Regions from separate parts of the Homo sapiens genome. Here all the other regions are linked to region 3. Evidence: promoter capture Hi-C in 16 types of primary human blood cells and fetal thymus (Javierre and others, 2016). All regions are on one chromosome and are shown on one strand. The core of a region is centred on a gene start or on the middle of the fragment in contact, and the rest is flanking DNA. Distances in the headings are between cores, read along the strand shown.

Region 1 (6,718 bases), core at 4,089-6,588, 1.4 Mb after region 3:
GCTGTCTAAAGTTGTTCTACATTCTTCTGAGACGCCTTTAAGGTATTTGTGGTGTCAGTCACTTGGGATTGGAGTGATTTTGCTGTATCTTCCAGTGACTGTGTCTTTCCTTTAAGGTGCACCATCCTCATTTATGAAATAAAAGCTTATTAGTCTCGGTTTTCTATGTCGTGAAGGTCTACTGTCCCCTCAAGTGAAGAGATGGACTTACTCAGATTCTCATCAAGTGCTACCCAACACAGCGCTTGTAACATCAGAGGATTGGCGTTCACTGAGAATGACTTGAAGGCTTCTTAGTCTGGTGAAATCAAGTCTATGTTCTCCCTGACTTTACCATATTCTGTGACCCAGGCAGAAAATCGTTTGGCCAGCTCTTTTCCCCTCCTTAAAGTATGTTGGGTCTTTATTATAAAAACAGTCACAGTCCAGGCATGGTGGCATGTACCTATAGTCCCAACTACTTGGGAGGTTCAGTTGAGCCTGGAGGTTGAGGACACAGTCAGCAGAGGATAGCACTACTGCACTTGAGCCTGGGTGACAGAGTGAGACCCTGTCACAAACAAACAAAACAAACAAAAAACAGTCATAGCAGCAGATACTAGAATCTCTGGGAAGTCTAAAAAGAGTAGAGTGCTCTCTCTAGCATTCAGACACTAGCAGAGCACGGCACAGATACTCAGGACTGCTGATTTTTGAGGCAGTCAGCAAGCTCTCCACGGTTTTAATGAGTACTGCAGCTCTGCCCCTGGTTGCCTGTATTCTGTGAGCCACAGCCAACCACACTGAACCTTGCTGAGTGTTCTGTCTTTGACCCAAACATGTGACTAAGCAAAAGGCATCAGTGGGGCTGGGAGAGGGGGAGGCCAGGCTTTATAAAGTAGTGCTCTGTAACTTTGCTCTACCCACTGCACAAATGGAAAGAGATAATGTTTGTACAATGCATTAGGGAAAAATGGAAAAGGCCGGCCACAGCCAGAGGAACCAGCCTGTGAGCTCTGGCCACTCTAGGCCCTATTTGGCCCTACATTAAACCTGGGAGACATCAAAGCAGTGCTGTGTAATACCTGTTCTCTGCATAGCGCATGTCAGGGAGTGACAGTGGCACATGCTGCAGCGGAGGACCCATGTGCCTAAAGCCCTGGGCAAGGTCATTCTTCCCTTGATTTAAAGTTTTCTTCTGCAGCCTGGAACCCTGATCTTCCTGCAGAGGTCACAGGGCTCTCCTTCCCCTCAAGACTCCCTCTTTCTTTTGTATTTGGTCAGTGCCGGCAGGCAGGGGCAGAGGACTGGATGGCTTCATCAAAGGCACTAATTTATCAAGTGGGATTTTAATTTAAGAATTCAGGGGGAATGATGGAAATTGGCAATGCCTTAACATTTCATGGATTTTCGGTGGAGCTAGTTTGTCCCTGTTCAAAACAAGCAGTCCCACATGGGGAGGCTCCCCTCCAATAGTAACTCTTTCCGTTTGTCCATTTGTGGCCCTGCCATCTCCAGCAGGCTCCCAAAGCTGTCCCAGGATCAGTCTCCATTACACCTCACCATCTTCAGAAATGTGGCTCTGTGGAGTGCCTCCAAAGCAGGAGCCGGTCCTTCTTTCAGCTGAATTTGCCACCCCTTATTTCTTTATGCAATATCTCACTCTCCTTGATATGGCTTGGTTATGTCCTCACCCAAATCTCATCTTGAATTGTAGTTCCCATAATCCCCGGGGGAAGGATCCGGTGGGAGGTAGTTGAATGATGGGGGCAGTTCTGGTGATAGTGAGTGAGTTCTCACGAGATCTGATGGTTTTATAAGGGGCTTTTCCCCCTTTTGCTCAGCACTTCTTGTTGCTGCCGCCATGTGAAGAAGGATGTACTTGCTTCCCCTTCAGCCATGGTTGTAAGTTTCCTGAGGCCTCCCCAGCCATGCTGAACTGTGTGAGTCAATTAAACCTCTTTCCTTTATAAACTACTCAGTCCCAGTTATGTCTTTATTAGCAGCATGAGAATGGACTACTGCGCTCCAAGTGTCTCTGGAAGACTCAGGCCCAGAGATTCACTGTCCATCTCCAAGGACTCTGCATTGAGTGACTTGTCCTCAGTATTTTTACCCATGAGGGAAATGAAACACCTTCAATGGAGACTGGTCTGGGGTTCCGAAGGGCACCAGGGATTGGGCTGCAAGGGTTCTGCTTCCAGGAGTCCCTGTTTATCTCTCATTTTTGAGTCAGAAAAAGGCCCCTGGGTATCTGTGTGTAGGCTCTACCTTCTCAGGTTTCCCCGTGTCTCTGAAAACATGGCTGCCCATGAGAAGTATTTAAAGAAATGAACTTTACCTATTAACTTATTTAGCTCTCATATGAGACAAGGTGATGTAATCATAATGGCTCTTAATTTCAGAATGCAAGCATAAGACCATATATTTTACACACACACACACACACGCAGAATATATGTATATATGCACACACTCACACTTAAATGATGTGTGTGTGTGTGTGTACTTAGTAAGCACTGAATAAATGCTTACTAGCTAAATGATGAAGCTAGTCCTAACCTGTTTTTGAAGAATTGGCAATTATAGAGAAGATGCATGCAATTTAAAAAATTTTAATGGGGACATAGCTATAGAGATATCAATCTTTTGAGTTTTTTTTTTTTGAGAAATGGAAAGTGTTGGTTGCATAACTCCTTCCACCTGTAATGTGTCTTAACAATTTAATTTTTGGCTTGCAGCAAGTTTGGAAAAGTCCTAGTTATCATGGTTGTGTACTTTAATGTGCTTCCCTCTAGTGATTACTGGGGTAAGGGAAAGTGTTTTGCATGCAGTAGATGCTTAATAAGTATTTGCTGATTAAATAAATGAGTAATATTGGAATAGAGATCAGCAAGCAGTAGGTCATGATGGTTTTATTGTTTCATTCACTCATTCACTTATTTACTTCACACACAAAAAATTGATCTCCTGCTATACACCAGGCATGACTCTAGACACCGGAGGTACATCTGTGAACGAGACAAAATTTTCACCTTTAAGGATGATATTCTAAAAGAGATGGCAGAACATAAATCAACAGGAAAATATCCAGAGATGGTAAGCTATGATGGCACGTAAGCATGGCGAGATTTGAACAAGGGAGGAAAGGCCACTGGGCTGGAGTTGTTGAAAGTTACAGCCTAGGCCAGAAGCACAGTGCTGAAGCCTGAAGAGGGCAGAAAAAAATATCCCAACCACTTGCTTCTGCCCTCTGACCTCCTTCTGATACCTCCCGTTGGATGAATAAAATGTTCAGCCAAAGAGCCTGAGTCTGGATGATGTAGTCCCTAGGGGACGGAGCACAGAGCAGGGCAGAGAAAGACAGAATATGATCAGGGGCATGAGGCTGGGAAATAATTATGTCTAATGAACATTTGTTAAACAACAAAGGATTCTTTTGGCATACAGAATTTTCTTTGCTACTTATATGCAGAATTGTAATGAAATAAAGCATTTTTCAGTTTGGAACTCTGCAAAAAATGGAAACGTTTCATTAATATTGCAGAATAAAACTTGAGAGACAGATTACCACCATTTAGCTTCCTTCCCCCTCTTCCTTTCAGGAATACTCTTCTGCTAATGGGGATTAAGAACAGATGCGTGTATGTCCTCTTTTAGACTCTACATGTGTTCTCTTCTCCCCAAATCGTCATGTATTGGGAACCTGCTAGTATGGCTAGAGTGGCAGGAATTAAGTCACAGATGTATCATTTTCACTCAACATTCTTTTAGAAGAGGTTAGATCAAGAAGAATTAAGACGATTCCAGAAAGAGAAGAACAAGGAGACCCAGGGAGGGAGGGGTGAGGAGGGCAATTCTTAACATTAAATGGGTTTATTTGATGGCTGTTGGGAACCAGATTTGTGCAAACACTCAAGGCTGGCAGAATACATTTAATACATGCTCTTGACCTGTAAGGGCACTGAATTGAGAAAAGGCTACAAGAGTTGTCTGGGCTTGTTCTTCAGAAGAAAAAAGGCAAGGTATAATAGGGGAGCTGAGTACATGTCTTGTGACCCAGGAAAGGGAGAGAAGAGCATTGTTATGGTGTGATCAGGGCCAGAGCAGTGTGGCTGAGGGGAGGCAGTTTGACTGGGAAGCTCTTTGCTCCTTTGGTAACCAGGTATGAAGATGACTAGCCATTCATTGTGCAGAGACAATGCTATATGAAAACTTTACTTTTCCTCCTGGACATGAAGACCTTTTTCTTAGCTCCCTTTCATCTAAGTAGGCCAGATGGCTGTTCTGGCCAAAGAGATGTAGACAGAATTCAGCACAGTGCTGAAGCCTGGAGAGGGCATACATCATGTCTATACCTGGCCTAGCGAAAAAAGATCCTGCCTAGTTTCCCACTGTAATTGAGAGTGGAGACATCCCCAAGATTGTTGTGGGAGGCTGTACAAATCTGTAGGGAAGCTTGGAGTAATGTGGGAGTTTAAAGAAAATGCAAAGAAACTCTGAGGCATCTGGCTGGTCTGCTCAAAATTTGGACTGTGGCACCAGTTGTTTTGTGTTTGAGGCTATCTAGTCTATTTATATGATTACAGGGCTTGGAGAAGTTTAAGAAAAGCATTGCTGCCATTTAGAATTTCCTAGATTTGATGGCCTCAACTGAATGTTATTATTTAAGTACTACATTAGATCAAAGGTTGAGCATCTTATGTTGGTTACATTTTACTTGCTCATTTGGAGGGGTAAGGTAGAAGAGAAAGGCTATAAGGGATTGTCTACACAACAATGCGATTTTATTTCCTAAAACGTTTTGTTGCAAATGATGATGAACCTGTGACAAGCTGGCTGTGGTCAGGGTGGAAACAGGAAGAGAAACCACACTTAACCTACGACTTCTAAATAGTCGGGGCTGAGCTAGACCAGAGTTGGGCTTTTCTTTGAGTTACAAAGCAAGTCTCTACTGATGTTTTATACCTTTTTCTTTCACTAGTCTTCAAGCTGTTGAAACATTTTTTCAATTACTTGTCATTTGCTGTTGTTTTGTCTAGGTGAATCATCACGAAAACTAAGTAGAGAAAAAAACAAACACCCCAATCATCAGAGAAAGGATATTTCAAAACTGTCCATATTTAGTCATTGACTAAGGTCTTATTGAATGCAGCTTTATTGATAGTGATGAGATTACAAAATAACACTACATACATTTTAGTTTGTTGTTCCTTATATAGTACCAGAATGTTTTAAGCAAAGAAAGAAATTTTTTTGCCAAAATTTGCTGAATAAATAAAAAGTTTTTAAAGAATATCCAGGACAAATAATTTATTTCAAATTCCCTGAGAGGGCAAATTAAATGGTCTTTACCCAGTGAATGTGCTGGAGGGTAAATCTTTAATATTTTAGATTGTTTAATTCTTATAATTACGAATAAAGGACTGTTTGGAAAATTATTCTGTAGGTTTTTTGGCATGAAAAGAAATACTGAAAAGTATTTCCTTTTAATGCTGCCTTGTGCTGGAGAACATATTCATCAGCGGCTGGAATAGGGATGTAGTTCATTCAGAGATTACATAAATTCATTTGGTTGTAACTAAGGGAAAAAAATTAATGAGGTGATTTTAGTTTATTTCGTCTCGTAACTTGGATGAGTTCTGAAGACACTTGGCCAGGATAACCAGCAAAAAAATAAAATTAAAAAATTGACCTTTTAGAACGTACATATTTCCAGGTAAACCTCTATTTACATGTGTATTTGTAAAATACACTTACTACAACTGCTGCTTTACCTTAAATCATAGAACCATTCAGTACTCACTTCCTCATGACATCAATTATACCTCCTCACTCATAACACTTCACTACCATCTAATCATGTTTTAAAATTATACGAATCTGTACCATCACTGACCTTCTATTCAAAACCATTCTTACAACATAGGAAGTAAAAATAAAATTCATTCAATGCACTGAAAGCAACTAATGCATCAGGGATGACAACTTGGCACCAAGAACCTAACTAAAAATGGACAAAGTATGTTAAAGTTTGGCTTCCTGGAGACTTTCTCATCAGGTCTCTGGCCCATTTAGAAAAAGAGAGCTTGAATTTTATTATTTCAGTTGCTGGGTAACATGCAATTTCCCTGATATATTGAACTGATGCTTTTATTTGATCACAGGACTCAGCCGTTACAAAAATAACAAGTCATTTTCTTTAATAAAAAATAAAAGGAAGTATATGGTTGGGTCCTAAGACTCTGGAGTAATTGAATGTAAGCTTAAAACATACTAAATATTTTCCACTTGGGAAATCTGGAGAAACTAGGTTTCTAGGAGCAACTGCTTCAATAGTTGGTGTAAAGAATATGTTTCACTTACACATGAAAGTGGACACATATTATTTTGATTCTGCATACTTTTATGTCTTTCAATTGGCAATGCAAGATGTTCCAGGATATGAAACTTTCACCGACCCTTACATTCCATACTCCTCGCCAATGTGTTATGTCAGAAATTCTGACATTCCAAATTCATATTGGTCTTTATTTTCCTAACTGTTGAAGCAGAAGATAGAACAGCAATGCACCCAAGAGTCTGGTAAGCTCAAATATGTGGATTTTCTGAGTCTTCAGATAAACAATGTAGAAAATAAATTAAATGGTAATTTTAAATGATTTATCCAGCACTAACATGTCTCCAGTTTCATCTCTAGAAAGCCACTGCCAAGTTTTTGCACAACCTAATTTATCAA
Region 2 (7,325 bases), core at 938-3,437, 1.1 Mb after region 3:
CACCCAAGGATGGATGCTCACCTCTAGAAGCAGGAAGACAAGCAACCATTATGCAGGGAGCAAAAGAAGAGGTAGTGGAAAAAAAGATTCTTGCAAACAGAACATCCAAAAATTAAGGTCTGTAACCAAGAAGAAGCTGTTGATTTCAGGGAATGGGAAGGAAACATTTTCAAACCACCATTTGGCAGACTCAATGCTGGGCTCTCATTTGCATTATCTCTTGAAATCCACAATGATCCTGCCACATAAAATCCCCATGTATAGACAAGGAAATTGAGTCAAGGAGGTGAGGTCAATATCTGAAGTTACAAGATATTTTTCTTGAAAAACATCAAATTTTAGTAAGCCTTCTACTGTCGCTTTTCAGCAAAGTTCTGTACTACATTCTGTAACATTACCTATCTGTAACTATCAATAAAAATTTCCCCTTTGTCTTCAATTAGAAATAGAAACGAAAATGCAAAAAGAGAAACAGTACAGAAAAAGTTCCTGGCAATAAGAAGTTAGAATCTAGGGTAAAAATCTAAAAGGAAAATGAGTAACATTTCCCTTTCAAGTGCAGAGCTTTCCTGGAGAATCCCAGGCAGTGTCTGAGCTACCAGAAAAGTAACCCACTTGTCCCCAATCACAGATGGAAGGCTAAAATGTTTGTCCACGGCCATCTAATGCAAAACCGCCTGTTTCTATCTGTAGATTCTGCACGAAATGCTTTTGGCTGAGACGTGCAAGCAAAACAAGTGCAGACCAACAGGTTATCTGCCAAGCGGTTAGGAGAATGAGTTACAAAACCTGACAAGCAACATCAGCTCTTCCGTACAATTCTATGAAGCACTTCCTGCCACGGGTCCCGCTATTTAAAACAAATTAGGCTGCTCGCTCCCCACAAATCCCATCTAGCACCTCTCGGTTCCTCAGTCTAGCTAATAAACCATGCACTGGATTCTTCCGAAAGAGACCCCCCGCCCCCGACCCCGCCACCTCCGCCACTTTGCATAACTGGCCAAATGCATTCTCCAAATTTGCAATCAAGGAGCTTAATTCACAATTGTGGATGGGGCGGGGGGAACCGCCAAGTGCAAGAACACGGAACGGTTGCAAGACGCAGTTCAGCAAGAACAACTCTTGCTCTAGGCATTGCTCCGTCGACCCGAGGTGGTGGGGTGGGAGAGTCTTACCGGCGTGGAAACAGTAAAAAGGCACTTTTCCTTACAACTCGCAAGACAACACACACTCTAGCTCCCCCGGCGCAGAGCACAACCGCCCCCCCGCCGCGCGCCTCCCTCGCAGCCAACCGCTCCCGCCTCTCCAGGGATCAGGCTCCCAGAAAGGGCCGCCCCGGTCGCCCCCGAGTCCCCGCCCTCTCGCTTTCCCACCAGCCTCATCCCTCCCTGAGTACCAAGGGCTGCCGTTGTCTGGTTTCAATAAAAACTGAAGCGGTCCCGAGCTAGCAGGCTTCCCTCCGAGGGGCGGACGGAAGGTCCGCAGGGTTAACGGAAGCGGAGAGAACAGGACAAAAAGGAAAGGCCGGAGAGTCCCCCCAGCGGCGCCCGGTGCCCGCAGACCCTCGCACAGGCTCTTCGAACTCACCCGGGTTTCGCCGACTCCAAAGAAAGCGCGCTCCCTCCGAGAGCGCTCCCCCGGCTCTCCCGCCGCGCGCTCCGGCCCGCAGGGCGGGAGGACCCAGGCGGACAGATCCATCCCTCCGCGTCTGGTGTGGGCACGGTGTCGTGCCCCGCGGCGCCTGTCAGCGCGCACAGGTGGGACCGCAGCACAGAGAACGCTCCCGAGCGCCCTGCCTCAGCCTCGGCGTGGGGCGAGCCGCCCGCGCCCGCACCCGCACCCCTTTCCCCGCGCCCGAGGAGCCGGGCTGTACCCCGGAGCCGGCGGAGCTGGAGGCCGCGGGCGGAGCGCGGGTTGCCCCGGCAGCTCTTTCTCGGCACCAGGTCCGAGACCTAACGGCAGTTCTCTCTGACCGCTTCCCGGCCGCGCGCTCGCGCGGGTGTCATGGCCGAGCGGCGGCCCCCGACGAAGTTTCCCGGAGCTGACGGCTTTACCTTTTAGCCCAAGGGGCGGCAGCAGCTTTGAGCAGCAGCAAGGCGGCGGCGGCGGAGGGAGCGCGGGTGGCAGCCGGCGCAGAGGCGGATGTAGAAGGAGACACCGGTGGCTAGGACCCGCGCGATGGGAAGAGGAAGGCGCCGGCTATCTACAATCAGAACGTGGGCTGACCGTGACGTCACAATGGCGCGGCCAGCCAATCGGGACCCGAAGGATGAATCAAGCGCTATGATGTCATGCGGCCCGGGAGCCAATCGCGGGACAATAGAACTTTCGTGATCGTAAATTCCAGAATCCGATGCGGTGGAGAGCCTAGGCCGGGGTTGGCCCCTCGGTTCCACGTGTCTCTGGGAAATTTTTTTCCCCTTTCTTCCTAATAAGCCTGCGTGGAACGCAGAGCCTGCGCAATAGCCCCGGTGAAGTTGTCGATGCCCTGAACTCTGGTTTTTTTACTGCCAGGCGTGGCAGGAGTCTGTGGCCGCATTTGGGTGGCAGAAGCCCACCCTCGTTACGGTCTCCTCTATGAGTTATGTCATGCTGAAGGGGATCCACTTCATCGTTAAAGCTGAAAGGGTTAAATGCCCACGGAGACCGCCGGAGTGAAGGTCTGCAGTTGAACAAGATAAAGGAACAAGAACAAAACGACTCAAAACTGTTGTAACCATAACTCCCTTGCAAAGGATTTACCGTGTATTTTTCTTAGGGATTCTGATTTTTCTTTGGAAGCCACTATCAACTCCATTTCTACTCTAGAAATTATTCTAAAGGATTGTTAAATGAGGAAAGATGGAATCAGTGTCTTTTCAGCTAAGCATATTTAAGCACTTAAGACAAAGGGGGTTCAGGGCATAAACGGAAGATCCTTGCTGTTTTTCACTGATATTTGGATAATTAAAGACCTTCATTAGCTTTGTATCCTACTGTTTCCCCATTCAAACCCCAGAGATTTAGCCTTTCTTCGTGTGCCCCTCTTGCTGTATTCTTACTCCTCTATGTGCATCCACCTAACAGTCGGCTATTTAATGTAGGCAAATTTATTCTTTTTTTTCTTTTTTTTTCTTTTTTGAGACAGAGTCTCGCTCTGTTGCCCAGGCTGGAGTGCAGTGGCGCGATCTCAGCTCACTGCAACCTCCACCTTCCGGGTTCAAGCGATTCTCCTGCCTCAGCCTCCCAAGTAGCTGGAATTACAGGCACGCGCCACCACACCCGACTAATTTTTGTATTTTTAGTAGAGATGAGGTTTCGCCATGTTGGCCAGGCTGGTCTCGAACTCCTGACCTCAGGTAATCCGCTCGCCTCAGCTTGCCAAAGTGCTGGGATTACAGACGTGAGTCACCGAGCCTGGCCGGCAAATTTATTCTTTTACATATTTACAATGTAATGCTTATCACGTGCCAGCTGTGTTCCAGGCAGTGGGCCATTGCAATAGGAATGCAAGTATACAAACCATGTACAAATTAAGTAAATTAAACATATACAAAGAATCGAGATTGTCAGTTGCCATTGAGCTCCACAAACACTGAATGACTTCAATTTGCTAGATACTATGTTAGGTATTCAAAATTTGAAACCTTCAAGGACTTCTTGGGCCTGGAAAATGATACAGTCAGGAAGCAACTACAATGCAGAGTGGTAAATGCTGCTATGGACATCAAGGGACATGAGAAAAGCATATGCTGGTGGCATAGACTATTTTTTTGAGATATCTCCTTCATTCTTCACGCTTCTGCCAGTAGTCCAAGGCCAGGGTTCATCTCTGTCATCCCATCTAAGTTTTGCCTTTCCAGGTTTTAAAAGTTTCTAATTTAACTTGAGATTCCAAAAGTCTTAAGTTTTACGCCGCACTTGTTTGAATTGTGCTTACCTATCAATAAAATGTTTTAAGCCCATTTGACCAAAATATCTTTAAGTTCAGGCTTATATAACTGTCAAGCTATGCATTAAATATCAAGTGATTTTTCTTATTGTATGATTAAGTATGACGTTTTGCTGTTTTTTCCCATCCCCCAAAGGCTGCGTTTTTACACAGTTCTTTGTTGATGTGTGTATCTTGGTTTCCATTATAGCATCACCACCCTGTATTGTAGTTGCTTTCTGATGGCATCATCTCACTCAATCCTTGGGGTATATGTACCCCACTTTAAAGACCACCGCTTTAGGTAGTAAACTCCGTTGAAGGGGAAAACATGTTGAATTTTGCTCCTTATTGATCTGTAGATCTTAGTACAATCCCTGGCATATAAGGGCTCAATAAATACGTGTTAGATGAGTGAATCTGTGAACAGTTACTCCCCCTCACCATCACCATCACTTTTCAGCTCCAGAGTTCCAATCCTCTGTCAGATAGTCACATCCCAGGATTATTAGATTATTAACTCCTCTCAAACATGTTGGTACGGTCATGTTCTCATTAGTTCTCCAGCCAGAGACTTAGAGTTCTCAGAACATATATATATATGCAAATGTATTATTTTACATATTACAATGTAATGTTTATCATGTGTCATATATCTCTGGGGGAAACTTCCTCCCACCCTAACAATTACTTCGTATTTCTGCATCATTGCACTCATGAGTAAAGCTGTAAGAAAAACAGTGGAGCCGAAACGACTCCCCAACTTAACTGTGGGATTTTTTCCAAATAAATCAAAAGAATACCTAGGATCCAATGCCAGGCTTACTAAATAACAGGGCTCAAGGAACCTGTTTTAGGTAGCATCAGAATCAGATTCCTGGCCAGCTGGGTTCTGGAAACTGTGCTGAAGCCATCCTTGCCCTTCTAACCCACCTATCCAACAATGTGAGCCCATGTAAGGTACAGTTAACAAAACCTTGTAACTATTACCTGTTTGTTCATAGCATCCACATGGTAGTCCCCCAAGAAATGATTGTTGAATTATCTTCATTCAATAGCTAACTATTAATATTTTCTTCTTTCTCCTTCATGTATTTATTTATTTATTTATTTATTTATTTTTGAGATGGAGTTTCGCTCTTGTTGCTCAGGCTGGGGTGCAATGGCACGATCTTGGCTCATTGCAACCTCCACCTCCCAGGTTCAAGCAATTCTCCTGCCTCAGCCTCCCAAGTAGCTGGGAGCGCCCGCCACCACACCTGGCTAATTTTTTTGTATTTTTAGTAGAGATGGAGTTTCGCCATGTTGGCCAGGCTGGTCTTGAACTCCCGAACTCAGGTGATCCACCCACCTCGGCCCCCTAAAGTGCTGGGATTACAGGCGTGAGCCACTGTGCCTGGCCTTCTATTTGTTTTTAAATTCTGGTAATATTTTTCCTTTTGCTCTTAGTTTTCATCATTGAGCTCAAATCTCCTCAAACCACACACTTCTAAGTGTATTAGAAGGTTGCTTCAGTATTGCTTTTGAAAAGGAAAGTACTTAACATCCTAGGCAATTTGTTTTATTGTTATAGCAGCTGCAGTTGAATTAAAAAATACAATTGGAACTTTCATTAGAATACAATTCTGATTAGTGAAACTTGTTTCATTAGGACGTATTTGCATGACATAATGAAACACATCCTTCCAGAAAAGATATAAGCCAATGTTTGCCTCTGGACATATCAAAGTTGACTAAAATATAGGTCAAGTAGCAGCTATTTTATGCTAAAGATGACACTGCAGTCTCTGTTGGTTCCTACGTTCTCCGCCTCCCCCCACAATCCTTTTTTCTTCTGTTCTAATTTGTGTTTTCTATTATCTTGCTGCCCAGAATTCCCACAGGCCACCTGGCTTGTCTTTGTCGGAGGCAGAGGTAGATTAAAGGCAGTTTCTTGTCCTCCTCAGACCTTGGAGTCAGTTCCATACTTCAATTGTTACTTTGCTATTCCTTTTCTTCATTGCTGTTCAACAATATGTCCTGCAGTTTATCTCTGTCCTTGTCCTTGAGTGTTCATCTTGATGAACATGAACTACTTGAAGACACTGCCCATGCCTGGTCTGCTATATTGTTTTCTTAATGACTAGCAGAATTTCTGGCAAATCACAAATGTTCATAAATATTCGATTAATGAATGAACAATTTGTACAATTTCTGGATTCTCTAGATTTTCTTCTCCACTTCCTTTTACACTCTTTAGTACTGTCTCCAGAAGTGACTGGGCAATGAAAGAGATCTGCATCCCAGTCTTCTGTATCCACATTTCCTTTGCAGGTGATATCATCCCCTTTCATGTGTTTGGATTTCATCTATGGTCGGCTGACTTCCAAGTGTATTTCTCCAGCCCACACATTTTCCCTGATTTCCAGACTTACGTACTTAACTACTTATTAATGACTTCTCTAAATGAGATATATTCATAAATGAGATATCCAAAAGACATCTCAAATTAAGCATAACAAAAAATGAACTCTTAACTGGCCTTCAAACCTGATCTTCCACAGTAGTCCCCAGATTTGTAAATGACAATTCTATGGACCCCGTTTCTCAGATCAGACACCTTGGAGTTACCTTTAGCTCCTCTTTTTTTCTCACCTACTACATCCAGTGCATCAGCAACACTCTACTACTTGACCTTTGAAACATATCCAGAATGTGTTTGCTTTTTACCATCTCCAACATGACCACCTGGTTTAAGTCACTATCAACCATTGCCTAGAATGTTGTAATGGTCTTCTAACCAGACCTCTACTTCTGTCTTTGCTGCCTACAGTCTATTCCCAAACCAGGTGCCAGAGTGATCCTTTTAAAACCAAAGCCAAATCACGTCACATGTCTGCTCAATGTCATCTAGCAATTTCTCATCTCCCTGATAGTAAAAGTCAAAATCTTTACAATGGCCTATAAGATCCTTCATGATTTTGCAACTTGCCATTTCTCTGACTTTAAACAGCTACTCTGTCTTCCACCCACAATGGCCCCAAGAAATATCTTGAGCACACCAAGTACTAGACTGCGTCAGGGCCTTTGCATTTACTCTTTACCTCATGCCTAGAATAATCTAACCCAGAAATCTCCAAGACTTACATCCTTGCTTCATGCTGGTTGCTACATCACTGTCATTTCCTTAGGGAGTTCCCCTGGATCACTCCCTTTAAATTTGCAACACCTCCCTCCCTGCCTTTCACACTCTGGAACACTTTATGTTTCTCCTTAGCACTTAACATTCTGGCATAGTATAGATTTACTTTTTAATATTTGTGTATTATCCCCACAGCCCCATAAGCTCATTGAGGACACAGACTTTGTTCTCTTCACCACTGTTTCCCCAGCACTTCGAACACTACCTGGCACTTGGTAGGAGCTCAACAAATAT
Region 3 (7,226 bases), core at 1,465-3,964:
TGATTTATCCCCCTTACCTTGGTAGGATAGACAGAGCTGGAGGGAAAGGCCACCAGGGTGGTGAGATCAGAATAACGTCGCTCTATGGTCTTCTTAGTAGCAGGACAGTAGTGGACACTGCGGACGACTTTGGGACGAACTAGAGAACCTAGGGATGGAAAATGTGCATATATAAACTCACCCAACTAGACGATGATACAGGTGGAACCCAAACATATGCAAGCCTATAATGACTCCAAATACTGTGTTTTTTTGACTAGGTTACGATATTTCAATATTACCTTTTATTCACTTTTTTATTTATATATAGACCACCACCATATCCATGTAAAATTTTAAGTACCACCAATCCCAACTAATAAATAGGTGGAGTTAGAGGTTGGAATTAGAGATTGCCAGGAACCAAGACTCCTCCAGCTCTCAGCAGAATTCATCATTCTACTAATACATGTGATTACTCAAGGTCCCCCAATCATTGTACACACTGAGCCCTCCAAGTTTTACCACGTAATTCCAATGCTCCACCTCTTTGAAGCCACAAGCTACCCAGATCTACTTTGCCTCTCCTGCTTTCCCCATCTCCCTGTCTATTCATTTCCTAAGCGGCCCCCTTTAACCCACTTACATTTAGTGACAATGCCCTCCACACAGACCACACAGCTGAGGAAGCAGGAGGTAAGAGTCCGCGGGGAGACGTGCTTGGAGCCAAAGCTGCCTTCCAGTCCTACGTAGAACTCCTCATACTGCTTGGCATAGGTAGCATCAATGGAGGCCACAAAATCCTTTAAGGCCCGCTGGAAGGCAACCAGCTCCTCAAAGGCATTGTTCAGAAGCCTGTACATAAGCAAGAGAAAGAAAAATTAGACTGGGCAGAACTCAAAAAAATGGATCCTCAAAACAGCAGACATTCTTAGATCATTAAAAACAATGAGAAAATCCAGCTTCTGCTTTCTCCTATAAGTCTCAGTAAAACACCATCCTATAAGACTCAGTAAAATACCAGAACTAAGGACCAACTTCACCTCAACTTATCAAAGATATAAAAATGATATTCAGCTAAACATTGGAAGGAGGGGCATTTGGGAGGAAAATGCCAACCACCCACTTTTTGAAAAAAAAAAAAAAAAAAATAGGTGCAGGTGAGCTACGAGGGCTTGTAGATCAATCCTGTTTCATACAAGTCCTCTCCTGAGAGGCTGTTCCAATCTGGCCAAGAGGGAAGGGAGCCATTCTCACTGACAGCCAGTATATCCCCTTGCCTCTCACCGGTTAGCCCTCTTCTCGTTTTTCCTGCGCAGGTCATTCACATTGACAATCAGCCGGTATTGGTTGTCACTGATCAGCTCCCGAACTTTGCTCTGATAAATTCCCTGGTCTTCCTGCAAAACAGCCACCACATATCACCATAGCCACAAATTTAAAAACAATGTTTCTAAACAGAAGTAGTTCTCATAGCCAGATAGCTAAGTCAATCTCTGCAGCAGAGCTGAATCCCCAGTAAGTATGTGCTCATCAATTTCTCCCTTTCATTCACTGTTTTTAGATTCGAAATAACACCCTAAGAGGGGACTATAAGAATTATAATGACTTCCTCAAGGTCCATGCTGTTATTCCCATCATCATGGACAACTTTTCTGCATGCTGTAATTTCTGTCTTTAGTGGAGAATTAAAATGAGCTCATGAGAAGTCTAAATGGACAGTAAGTGCAAACTTTGTTAAAATGTTAAGTTAAACCTAGCAATGTGAATGTTAAAGGTAACAACGTGAATAGATGGATATGTTGTTTCACTGTAGTAATCATTTCACCATGTATATCAAAACATGTGCACTTCAAATATATACAATAAAAATGTAAATAAAACAGACTCTTAATAGTCACATTAAAATGGCTTTTCATTTAAGAATTATGTAAAAAGTAATATTTTTTCCAATCATCTCTATAATACGGAAAGGGTTCTCATACCCCGACCTAAAGGAATAGAGAATCTCAGCTATTTGGTCACATCATCAACCCTTCAAGATGGTTTTTTCAACATTCTATGGCTTTAAGTCTTGGGTTGCACATAAAATCCCCTTGGCCTGCACACAAAACACTTTTTATCTGCATCTTAGTTGGTATTGAAAAAGAATGCAGCCGAATTATGGAGTCTTTTCCTCCAGGTAAAACGTCAGTCCCTAAAATCTGAGCACTCTGCAACGCGGCTGGTCACTATAGCCCTAGGGCAGCCCCTCCCCCACAGTCTCCTCAAATCAAGAGAGAGCAGTGAAATGCAAAAGGCCGAGGTGGGCTTTGCCAATCTGCTTGCACTTAATGGGAACCTGTCGCCTTTTGCGCGCCCGGACCATCGCTTGTACTTAAGAGAAAGCTGGCTTCCTAAGAGTTCACTTATCGAACACAAACTAGCGAGTCCGGCGTTGAGAAGTTACAAGATTGGGGCTGGAGGCTCGGGCCCGGCAGGCTCCGCTGCGGCACACGGTCTGGAGGTCTGGCGGGCCTCTGGCTTCCCGGCCGGGCCGCGTCCGCAGGGGCTCCGAGCGCTAGAGCCCGCGCGCCGGCGCCTCCCTCACCTCGTCGTCCAGGAAGTCCAGGTAATCTCTCTGAGCCTCCCGCAGCTCCACATCGTCCAGCACCACGGTACCCGCCATGCCCGCTGCCAAAGAACTACCTCCACCAAAGTCGCGTGGAGGTTCCCAGGATGACTCCACCCCGGCGCGAAAACTTCCGAACTCTTCCCGCCACCAAAGGTTACCTCGAGGAAGAGGCGGGGACCTTGGGAGCATATAAGCATTATGATTGGCTGAGTTCTCTGAGGTCGGACTAGCGACTGTCCAATCAAAAGCTTCTTCTTCTTCGGGTTTTCCGCTGCGCGCCCCGCGGTGGCGGGAAACGTACCATCCGGGATTCTCTGTTCCTCCCCTCCCTCCGCCTCACTCACTGACGAGCAAACTGACCAATAGGGCTGAGAGGAGGCTCACAGAGGCTGGTCATTGAGCAGCTGGAGGGGACAGGCTGGCGAGAGGGAAAGCATTGCGTTCTGGGAGTTGTAGTGTTCTCCCTCCTTTCCGGATGTTTTTGCAGGGTTTTTCAAGCTGCAGAACTTTTGACCCGATGCAACGACCAAATTCAGAGGATGGTGCTTTATAACGCAGGGAGATGAAAACATAAAAGCAAATCATTTTTAAGATATATCCAAATCAGAACTGCCCTCCAGTGGCATCCTAGTGTAAAAGTGGATTTTGAGAATCTATAGGATAGAATATAGAACTACAGTACCTTAGGGAAAGATTAGTTAAAAACCCATTTGCTATCTGATACCGTTGCCTGACGAACTCCATAAAGACATCGCCGCAGAGAAGGATGAAGTGAAAAAAAAAATCTGTGTTTACCCTGCCCCCTAGAGACTTCATCGTGTGTTATACAAATTTTGGAAACCGTTACTACTCCATCTTACTTAATAACAGGTAAATTAAAGGCTTTCTGGTCTTATAAAAAGATCACAAGATCCTTTTAAGTAACTTAGCTTACTGAACGATCAGCTCAAGAGGGGAAAAAGTGTTTCACGTCACTTTGATTAAATATCAATCAGTAACTAACAGCAAATCTGAAACCATAATGACTAAAAGATCATCGCACGTCCAAATTTGTATGTTTGTTTTCAGTCCGTCGTGGTTGGCTTTTTCTTATATTTCTAGTTTTATTTTGAGATATAATGTATATACAGTAAAATGCACAAATCTTAAGTGTACAGCTCAGTGAATTTTTACCTGTGCTTACACCCATGTAACCACTCTGCACAATAAAGAGCAAGCCCATTGCCCCAGCATGTGTTTTTAATTTTACTGAACAAGAAGCTGAAATACTGGATTGCCCAACATCAGACATTTGATAATTCTTTATCTGAAATTTCAGCCAACTATTAGCTTATGTTTTAAAGTCTTCAGGACTCACTATGTACTGATAAATATTCTAAGAATAATCTGCCTAAACAAAATATATAGGCCATCTATTTGTGTGGGTATATGTATTTCTAGTTATTATTCAGTTTATAGTTACTGTATGTTTTGTGCCATCCTAGTGGGCAGATAAATCGATCCTTAGCCAAAGCAAAAAGGCTGTCATTTGACTGCTTGCTTTTATGTTTATTAACGGGCAAAAAAAAAAGAAAATTCTAGAATAAAGATACTGTTTGCCGTTATATAGCAAGAGGTAATTACTGATTTATTAAGACTTTTTACTCATAACTCTTATTTTATGAACTTATTGGACAGAGTACTGAGATATCCTCTGCTCTGGAAACAATTTGAAATTAACACTAAAAGAACCGGGAAGCTTAGTTCAAACTAGCAAAGAAGTCGAGTCATTTGTAGTAGAAAGTCCAAAAGAGTGGAAATCTGAAAACCACATCTTTGATTCTCACACTTTTTTCTGGGCTTGTTTCCTTATATACAGTATAAGATGAAGAAACTGAATTAGAATATCTCTGATAATCTGTCTTACTCTAACATTCCATGAGCTAATGGCAAATTTGGAAACTATGTAAAGACAATTCTATTTAATGAATTAATCATGCCATGGTCTTTGATAAAGACTTGATTTGTCCCAATATAATCATCTTCAGCTGTGAAGGACACACCGCTATTTAATTGGTGTTTCTCCCTTCTTTCATTAGGGCATGAAATCTTTAAGCAGAGGAAATGTATTTCCTTTGTTATCCCCGACACCTGCAAACTGCCCAAAATCAATCAGGTTGTTGCTACAGAAAAATTAGGGGCATTTGTACATATCTCATAAAAAGTCCAGCTGAGCTTAGCCCGTAGTCCTCCTCTATCCTGATTCAAAATTAAAAAGCACATATAATCTAATAAAGTAGTGTATCTACAGTTTCCATACTTGGGTCACATTCCTGCTTTCCTCCATTTCAATTTTCTTTCCACCCTAGACTTTAATGGACTCAAGCCCATCTCCAAGGCTGCCTAAACGCTAGGGGGCTCCCTGGAGAGCAGAGTATACAGGAAGAGAATGGAAAGAAAACAAGATTGCAAAGAGATTGCAAAATAGATGTAATACTGCCATTTTTCTATGTCCTCAGGGTCCAAAAAATACCCAAAGACACAATACAAATCCATAATAAATATTATTACAAGAAATTATATATACCTTTGTTCAAACTAATGAACATTATATGTTGCAAAACATTTCAAATAATACCCTGTAATTAATAACTTGTTTAGGCACTCAGGAAAGTGCCATAATTCATTAGCAGTCCTTTGACATTTACTCAAAGGCCACCAAAGCTTGGAGGTGAGCAAATCTATGCCTCCAGGTGTCACAGCAGCTCAAGGAATAATCTGTAGGCACAGGCTTGCCCTAACCTCACAGTTCTGCAGTGTGAAGTCAGAATCTTCAGATGCTGTAGCATCTAGAGTTTCAAGCACCAAGACAGGCAGATTTGGTTACTCTTTCTGGCTGCTCTGTATATTACCTGCACGACTAGGCAACTTACTTAACCACTCTGTGCCTCAGTTTCTTCACCTTTCAAATTAGGTTAGTAGTATCTAACTCAAATGTTTAAGTATCCAGTGAAGTCATAACAGATGTAAACTACTGAAAAAAGTGCCTGGTATGTAGTAAGCATTAAATAAATGTTAACCATTGGTAGTGGTGGTGAATGGTAGTTGGAGAGGAGTCAAGGGATAGGAGAAGGGGAGGAAGCACTGTAGTGCATTCTGAAACAATTCAGACAACCAAATTCAAACCCCCTTCCCACTTCCACCAAAAAACTTACAATACAACCAACCCAGACACTTCCTTGAGTGGGACCTTTTTCTGCTGGAAGTCCAATTGGCTAAAAAAAATAACATAGGCAGGGTGTTGTTTGGCTCGGATTCCGACAGTGTTGGAAGCCATCAGATGCATTTACTCCATGCTCAAAGAACATTATGGAATACTAAATGGACTCCTTTATAAAACTCTTTTAAAAGAGTCTGGTCAGCCGGCACAGTGGCTCACACCAGTAATCCTAGCAATTTGTGAGGCCGAGGCAAGTGGATCACCTGAGGTCAGGAGTTCAAGACCAGCCTGGCCAACATAGTGAAACCCCGTCTCTACCAAAAATACAAAAAAATTAGCTAGGCATGGTGGCCGGCACCTATAATCCCAGCTACTTGGAAGACTGAGGCAGGATAATCGCTTGAACCCAGGAGGCGGAGGTTGCAATAAGCCAAGATCACGCCATTGCACTCCAGCCTGGGTGACAAAAGTGAAACTCTGTCTCAAAAAATAAATAAATAAACGAGTCTGATCACCTTTCTTGTCTCCCTTTTGCACTCTTCTGTTGCTTCCTGGAGTCCTTCCGGTTAGATATGCTAAAAAGAGCCGGAAAATCCAGGAGCCAGACAGAGAACATCAGTGATCATGATTTTCCCATTAAATATAACAACACAGTTGGCTTGCCAACAATTAGTGATTCATTGGTATTTGCCAAGGTTAATTTCAGTAATCTGATTTCTTAGTCCGTAAGAAGTCATCCCCATTCTTTTTCTTTCTGAGAGATAGGTTCACTATGCTGCCCAGAATGGTCTTAAACTCCTGGCCTCAAGTGATCCTACCACCTTGGCGTGAGCCACCATGCCCAGCCCCCATTCTTTTTTTTTTTTTTTTGACGAAGTCTCGCTCTGTCGCCCAGACTGGAGTGCAGTGTGCAATCTCGGCTCACTGCCACCTCTACCTCTCGGGTTCAAGCAATTCTCCTGCCTCAGCCTCCCGAGTAGCTGGGATTACAGGCAGGCGCCACCATGCCCAGCTAATTTTTGTATTTTTAGCAGAGACTGGGTTTCACCATGTTGGTCAGGCTTGAACTCCTGACCTCATGATCCACCCACCTCGGCCTCTCAAAGTGCTGGAATTACAGGTGTGAGCCACTGCACCCGGCTGAGCCCCCATTCTTAATTGTACAAGTCTTTACTGATGCTCTGAAGAGCTTTGCTTCAATGCTTAGAACCACAGATTTGCAGAAGGAAATGATTAAACACAAATTGAGTGAATATGAATATAGCATATGAAATGCTCTGATAATAACTCCATTCTGTAAATCTGTCTAGATTTGTTGTAAGCATGCATTTTTAAAGATACAGTCCCTTAATGTAATAAAATGATGTACATTGGCATGGTAGGGGAAAAAAGAAATAAATGTTTTTAAAAATGATGAAGAGCTTTAGCCATACC
Region 4 (6,784 bases), core at 4,147-6,646, 1.2 Mb after region 3:
TAGCTATTCAGCTTTCCATTTTAATTTTTTTTGGGGGTGGGTGGGGGCGGGTCGAATCTCACTCTGTGGCCCGGGCTGGAGTGCAGTGGCATGATCTCGGCTCACTGTGACCTCCACCTCCTGGGTTCAAGTGATTCTCTGCCTCAGCCTCCTGAGTAGCTGGGATTACAGGCACTCGCCACCACATCCAGCTAATTTTTGTATTTTTAGTAGAGACGGGGTTTCACCACGTTGGCCAGGCTGGTCTTGAACTCCTGACCTCAAGTGATCCTCCTGCTTCGACCTCTCAAAGTGCTGGGATTACAGGCATGAGCCATCGTGCCCGGCTTAGCTTTCCATTTTCTTGATGATGTTTTGCTATGAGTTTTATATCAACTTAAAGTTTACAGTAGTCTTTTGAATTTTTTTTAAGGATAATTTTTTAAAACTGCACTCAGCTAGAAAAATAGCTAGCATTTATTGAGTGCTTACTATTCTATAAGCACTATCTTAAATGCTTGACTTGTACTAGTTCTTTTATCCTCACAACTCTGTAAGTGCTATTATTACCATCCCTACTTTGCATACGAAGAAACTAAGGCATAAGCAGGTTAGGTAACTTCCCCAAGGTCACATAGTTAAAGTCAAGCAATCAGATGCCAGAGACCTTGTTCCTTGAGCTCTATGTTCTACTGCCTCCTGTCCTTATTTGTGCCTTTTTCTCTCTATTCATGATCAATCATTTTATATGTTTATCAGGGAAAATGACTAAGAAGCAGGGAGTCTTTTTTTACTATACTTTAAGTTCTGGGGTACATGTGCAGAACGTGCAGGTTTGTTACATAGGTATACACGTGCCATGGTAGTTTGCTGCACCCATCAACCCATCACCTACATTAGGTATTTCTCCTAATACTATCCCTCCCCTGGTCCGCCCAACCCCTGACAGGCCCCAGTGTGTGATGTTCCCCTCCCTGTGTCCATGTATTCTCATTGTTCAGCTCCCACTTATGAGTGAGAACATGTGGTGTTTGGTTTTCTGTTCTTGTGTTAGTTTGCTGAGAATGATGGTTTCCAGCTTTATCCATGTCCCTGCAAAGGACATGAACTCATCCTTTTTATGGTTGCATAGTATTCCATGGTGTATATGTGCCACATTTTCTTTATCCAGTCTATCGTTGATGGGCATTTGGGTTTGTTCCATGTCTTTGCTATTGTGAATAGTGCCGCAATAAACATGTGTGCATGTGTCTTTATAGTAGAATGATTTATAATCCTTGGGGTATATACCCAGTAATGGGATCGCTGGGTCAAATGGTATTTCTCGTTCTAGATCCTTGAGGAATCGCCACACTGTCTTCCACATGGTTGAACTAATTTACACCCCCACCAACAGTGTAAAAGCAGTCCTATTTCTCCATATCCTCTCCAGCATCTGTGGTGTCCTGACTTTAATGATCACCATTCTAACTGGCGTGAGATGGTATCTCATTGTGGTTTTGATTTGCATTTCTCTAATGACCAGTGATGATGAGCTTTTTTTCATATGTTCGTTGGCTGCATAAATGTCTTCTTTTGAGAAGTGTCTGTTCATATCCTTTGCACACTTTTTGATGGGGTTTTTTTCTTGTAAATTTGTTTCAGTTCTTTGTAGATTCTAGATACTAGCCCTTTGTCAAGTGAGTAGGTTGCAAAAATTTTCTCCCATTCTGTAGGTTGCCTGTTCACTGTGATGATAGTTTCTTTTGCTGTGCAGAAGCTCTTTAGTTTAATTAGATCTCATTTATCAATTTTGGCTTTTGTTGCCGTTGCTTTTGGTGTTTTAGTCATGAAGTCTTTGCCCATGCCTATGTCCTGAATGGTATTGCCTAGGTTTTCTTCCAGGGTTTTTATGGTTTTAGGTCTTACATTTAAGTCTTTAATCTATCTTGAATTAATTTTTGTATAAAGTGTAAGGAAGGGGTCCAGTTTCAGTTTTAAGAAGCAGGGAGTCTTTGCAAGCTCAAGGTAGGATCTTTGTCAAACAGGAAATATGGTATTATGCAGCAGTGAAACGAGGTCAGTTCTGAGTCCTCAGTCTAGGTTACAGGAACAAAGTTAAGAGTTTGTTCTTATGAGGAATAGAACTGAGTATGTCTCTAGGTCAAGAAAAACACTGTGGCAAAAATGAGAACATTGAGCAACTAATTCAAAATTTCATATGGAACAGTTTCAATAACCATCGGGTAAATGACTTCTTATGGTGAGTGTGCTCAGAAGTGCTCACTAATACTGGTTGATTGAGAGTGATATTTACAATACCAAACAGTCATGTCATTAATAGTATAACAACTTTTTCTTACCAGGGGCTTTTTTGAGCCAGTAAAGGAGAGGATCTTCCCTAGGATTTTTGTTTGTTTTTAAGACTAGCAATGTGCTAACTGCATCCCTTCTACATCCATGAAAGAGAATGCACCCTAGGCTCTCTAGACCAAACTCAGGCATGCTTTACTTGTGGCGTGCATTCAAAAGGAGGAGAACATGGTGAAAATGTCTTGAACATCATTCTAGTAACCATAGTGATACCAAAGCAAACCTGGATCCTTATCTCATATCTTGTTTATTTTTCAGAAAGAATTTATTTACACATAGACCTTTAATTTTGAAAAAGATGCCCCTCTTTGTTATTTGATTGTGTAAGTGATGTTTTGTTGGCCTTGCTTCACAGCAAGTCTCTGTAATACCTCGGTATGTTGCCAGTGGCTGTCTCTGTCCTCACAAACAAATGTTCCATACTTGTCTGACCTGGGCAGCCAGGCTATGGGGTCCAAGGAAGGATAGAACACCTGGAAAGTGACAGCAATGTTTTTGGGGTCAGAACTCTCAAAGTGGAAAAGTTATTCAAGATCCAGCTGCAGAATGAATGAGCACGTTCTCTGCTTTTAAAAAAAAGTTTTATTTTTTAAAAAGAAGTAATAAAGCTGGGCATGGTGGTGCTCTCCTGTAGTCCCAGTTGCTCAGGAGGCTGAGATGGGAGGATTGCTTAAGCCCAGGAGTTTGAGACTAGCCTAAGCAATACAGTGAGACTCCATCTCTAAAAAAACAAAACAAAACAAAAAACAAAAACAAAAAAAGAAAGAAAGAAAAGAAAAAGGAGTAATAAAGAGAGATATTGGTGCCTCACTGCTCTAAAGGGCTTTGAGGAAACAGTTCTAGGCTCTCCACAGAATTTGGAAATGCATCCTGGGGGGGTGGACTGTGAAAAACATCTGAGACATAAGCTCTATGTGACACTTGGTGGGTACTCATGAACATTCAGGGTTCTTGAGGGCCTGAACTGCTTGTTTTGGTAGCCTTGCATTTTCAGGGCAACAATCCCTGGCATCGAGTGGACCCTCAAGAAATATTTGTTAGCTGCCAGATGCAACTTTCCGCTGTATTGTCAACACTTTTTCAAAACACGTCACTGAGGATTTCAGTAACTTCCCAGCAGCTACAAGGAATCTTGGGAACCTTTTCTCTAGGCAGAGCAGGCTATTTAATACCCCATTTGTAATAGGGTGATTTAAAGATACTTTGAAAGCCAATCTAAGAAAAGACATTTCTCCGATGGTGCCTGAAGTTCGATGCATAGAGGTTTTTCTTTCTGTTACCCTCACTAAGTTCTTTGAAAATGCCTACAGAAGGGGTGTTCATATCAGGCCCTTGTGCTTCACGAGAATAAGTTGATCGGGTAAAAATTTTCTCCATAAGAGAGACCACTATTGGGAGGGGGCAGCTGCCCAGTTAGGAGGGTTAGACTTGTCCTGCACCAATATTGTCAAGCAAGTGGGCTCAAGGGTCCCTCTGGACTCTCCTACTTAACCTTCACTATTGGCTTAAATATAGGAGTGACCATCCCCTCTCCAGAAACTGGCCTCAGTCCTGTAGCTTATTTCTTGGGATCAGTGACCCACCTCCACTTTCCACCACCTCCAGAGGCTCGAGAGAACCTGTCCCTGTCTAAACAGCCATTATTAAATGTGACTGTATTTTTTTCTCTATAGGAATGATGTATTTTCTATTTAAAAAAAAAAAAAAAAAACTCCCACAATCTTTGTGTGACTTGCATTTGAGAGCGGCCAAAGGACCTACTTGCAAAGCAGTGCAGAGGCTGACATTTACTGATAATCTGCCATGCACGAGGCACCCGGCCAGAGGGACGCTTCCTGTTCAAAATGACTGTTAGGCAGATGCTATCATTTCCATGTTACTGAGAACAAAGTTGAATCTCTGAGAGAGAAAAAAAGGAACATTCACAGGGTCACAAAGGTGGGTTGAATTCCAGAGACCCTGTTCTCTCTACAGCAAGGAAAATTACCCATACCCAGGAGAGCAGGGAAATGTCATAAATTCTTTGTATGCCCTCACTGCACTTTGCACAGGGCTTGGAGTCTTTGATGGAGAATGCATGTAACATAACCCACTGAAATTAAGCTTAAACAAAAATGATACTTTGCTGGGAGGGATCCTGGTCACCCCCTAAAATCCGAGGAAAGTTGAACAACCAGGCCTCAGTACCAAGAGTTCTTGGGTTTTATATCTGTCTAATGCTACACCCGCAACTGGACTAAATAACCTGCATCTCTGTCTCTTAGTCAGAGTTCTCAAGAGAGAGACCCTAATTGGCTCCTGGTCAGCCAATGAACTTCCTCCTCCTGAGTCAGGTGTTCACTTCTAGTCCAATCAGCTATGACCAAGAGTCAAGCAAAAGCAAAACTTCCGGGGGCTAATTCTGAAGTCTGCCCAATGGTGTCTACTGTACCCAGATATAATTCAATACATGTTTATTGTCTGGTGTTTTTTGTGTTCATTCGTTGCAACCAAGTTCTTTAAGAACCTTGGATACATCGTCCTTCATTTAATCATCAGGCGGGGGTTGATAGGCCATAGTGATCAAGAAAAATATGTGAAATTTCTATATGCCAGTTATCGCTGTGTTAAAAACCTTCAGAGCAAATTAAGAAAGGAGAAATAAACTATTTGTTCTCAAAAGCTTGGTTTCAAGGGGACCGAGGAAATGGGAAAAGCATCTGTGGACAAGGCTATTGTGCTTGCTGCTGGAAGACTACCAAGGCCAGTTACTAAACGGGTGGGCAGCAACAAGTAGTTGCTTTGTTTTTTTTTCCCCCATAGGAAGTTGTTGTCTCTGTTTTGCAAGTTTGTCAAATTTCTTTTGTTTCTGGGGTCAATAACCTAGATACTTGAGACTCTTTTTTTCCCCTTCCGAGGGTCCTAATTTTGCATTTTACGTAACACCAATCTTGACCAAAAGCTGATTTATTAAGGAGGTTTCTTCTGGGTTAGTTGTTGGTGCTGGAGGCTGCGTGTACATGACTTAGTCTTCTACTGCCACCATGAGGGAGATGCTGGAATTGCAAGGCTCTTTTAGTTATCAAATGTAAATTTTCATAAATGAAAGTGAGCACGTTTAAAATTATCTCTATCTATTTATCTATCTATCTGTCTGTCTATCATGTTCATATATATATAAAATGGAACAATCCACCTCCTAAAACATATCCTCTGAAAGGCTTAAAGAGATATATAGTATTGCCAAGTGTGTCTGAGTTAGGTAGGCGAGGGTTTGAGACCTGCCTCTGCCTACCACTACAACCGCCCTTACACTAGACATTTAAGTCTTCTAAGCCACAGGTGTAAAAATGGTCTGATAGTACCCATTTCACAGGGCTTGGTATTGAAAAAATGACATAGCCTGTGTCAGTCTCTAGCATTTGGTAAGTACTCAATAAATGATTACCATTGCTATCACCTGAAATTGACCACGGCTGAAAGTATTAGAAAAGCTTTCTGCAGGGAGAAAGAGGGGTGAGGGTGGAGGGTACCAGTAACCCCGTGAAAACAAACACCAGTGCACAACTGGAGTGGATGCTCAATAAACATATGAAAGGTTCAGGGGAAAGGGGTAAAGTCACCAGGGATGGCTCTAACAGCCAAAAGAGGGATGGAAAACACTCTTTTAAGCTGACCATTTTAGAGTCAAAGAACCAAAAATATAGAATGTTCGTGTGGTAAGGATTCTAGATATGTACTCCAGCTTTTTTTTTTTTTCAAGTGGGGCAACCGAGTGATTGAATCACTCTTCAAGTTAAAATGTTAATCAGCAGTAAAGTGGGACTAGAACCCAAGACTTTTGTTTTCTTTTCTTTTCTTTTTTTTTTTTTTTTGAGACAGGATCTAACTCTATTGCCCGGGCTGGAGTGCGATGGCACATTTGTAGCTCACTGTAACCTTGAAGCCCTGGGTTCAAACAATCCTTCCGCCTCAGCCTCCTGAGTAGCTGGGACTACACTCACACACCACTGTGCCCAGCTAATTTTTATTTTTTTGGGCAGAGACAGGAATCTCACTATATTGCCCAAGCTGGTCTGAAACTTCTGGCTTCAAGTGATCCTCCCGCCTTGGTCTCCTAAGGTGCTGGGATTACAGGCATGAGCCACTGTGCCCACCCCCTCAAGACTTTTGACAAATAATCCAGAGCTCTTTATATATAAGCACCAAAATATCAGTCAAGATTAGCCAAATCAGGATTGTCTTGGATTGAAAAAAAAAATGGGCAAGTTGCTTAACCTGATTATGCTTTAGTTTCATTACTGGCAAAATGGCAATCATAATATCCTACTGCAGGGGTTCTAGTAAAGACTGAGATGCCACATGGAAAGCATTTAGATTTGTGCAATAAATGTCCACTGGTATGATTATATGAGTACAGACTTCATCTGGTACAATTACACCGTCTCCTGAATGTGATCAACAAAACTTTGCC

What was found. The method cuts DNA at HindIII sites, captures the fragments that hold promoters and counts their contacts. A CHiCAGO score of 5 or more calls a contact.
Region 1: a contact is called between a fragment that was not itself captured here and the fragment with the promoter of MCM3 in region 3, in 4 of 17 cell types (total B cells, non-activated CD4 T cells, naive CD8 T cells and 1 more). The highest score is 6.3, in total B cells.
Region 2: the fragment with the promoter of ELOVL5 here is called in contact with the fragment with the promoter of MCM3 in region 3 in 3 of 17 cell types (non-activated CD4 T cells, activated CD4 T cells and naive CD8 T cells); the score reaches 6.6 in non-activated CD4 T cells.
Region 4: a contact is called between a fragment that was not itself captured here and the fragment with the promoter of MCM3 in region 3, in 1 of 17 cell types (fetal thymus). The highest score is 8.9, in fetal thymus.

The regions. Positions count from the first base shown.
Region 1 is chr6:53,642,802-53,649,519 of GRCh38, forward strand. It overlaps KLHL31 (kelch like family member 31), which reads right to left. Exons shown (of 3, transcript NM_001003760.5): 3 at 5,115-6,718. Among named protein-coding and RNA genes, the nearest start is that of LINC01564, 18 kb to the left of the region's middle. RefSeq lists an enhancer at 670-964. The HindIII fragment of the contact is 1,807 bases long and covers 4,436-6,242 here.
Region 2 is chr6:53,346,763-53,354,087 of GRCh38, forward strand. It overlaps ELOVL5 (ELOVL fatty acid elongase 5), which reads right to left and starts at 2,188. Exons shown (of 8, transcript NM_021814.5): 1 at 2,055-2,188. RefSeq lists a silencer at 1,589-2,028. The HindIII fragment of the contact is 17,438 bases long and covers 1-7,325 here.
Region 3 is chr6:52,282,028-52,289,253 of GRCh38, forward strand. It overlaps MCM3 (minichromosome maintenance complex component 3), which reads right to left and starts at 2,715. Exons shown (of 17, transcript NM_002388.6): 1 at 2,570-2,715; 2 at 1,267-1,379; 3 at 626-834; 4 at 18-148. The coding sequence starts at 2,647. RefSeq lists enhancers at 2,593-2,672, 2,993-3,192 and a silencer at 5,272-5,341. The HindIII fragment of the contact is 4,216 bases long and covers 1-2,839 here.
Region 4 is chr6:53,479,480-53,486,263 of GRCh38, forward strand. All of the region lies in intron 3 of GCLC-AS1 (GCLC antisense RNA 1), which reads left to right. Among named protein-coding and RNA genes, the nearest start is that of GCLC-AS1, 51 kb to the left of the region's middle. The HindIII fragment of the contact is 811 bases long and covers 4,992-5,802 here.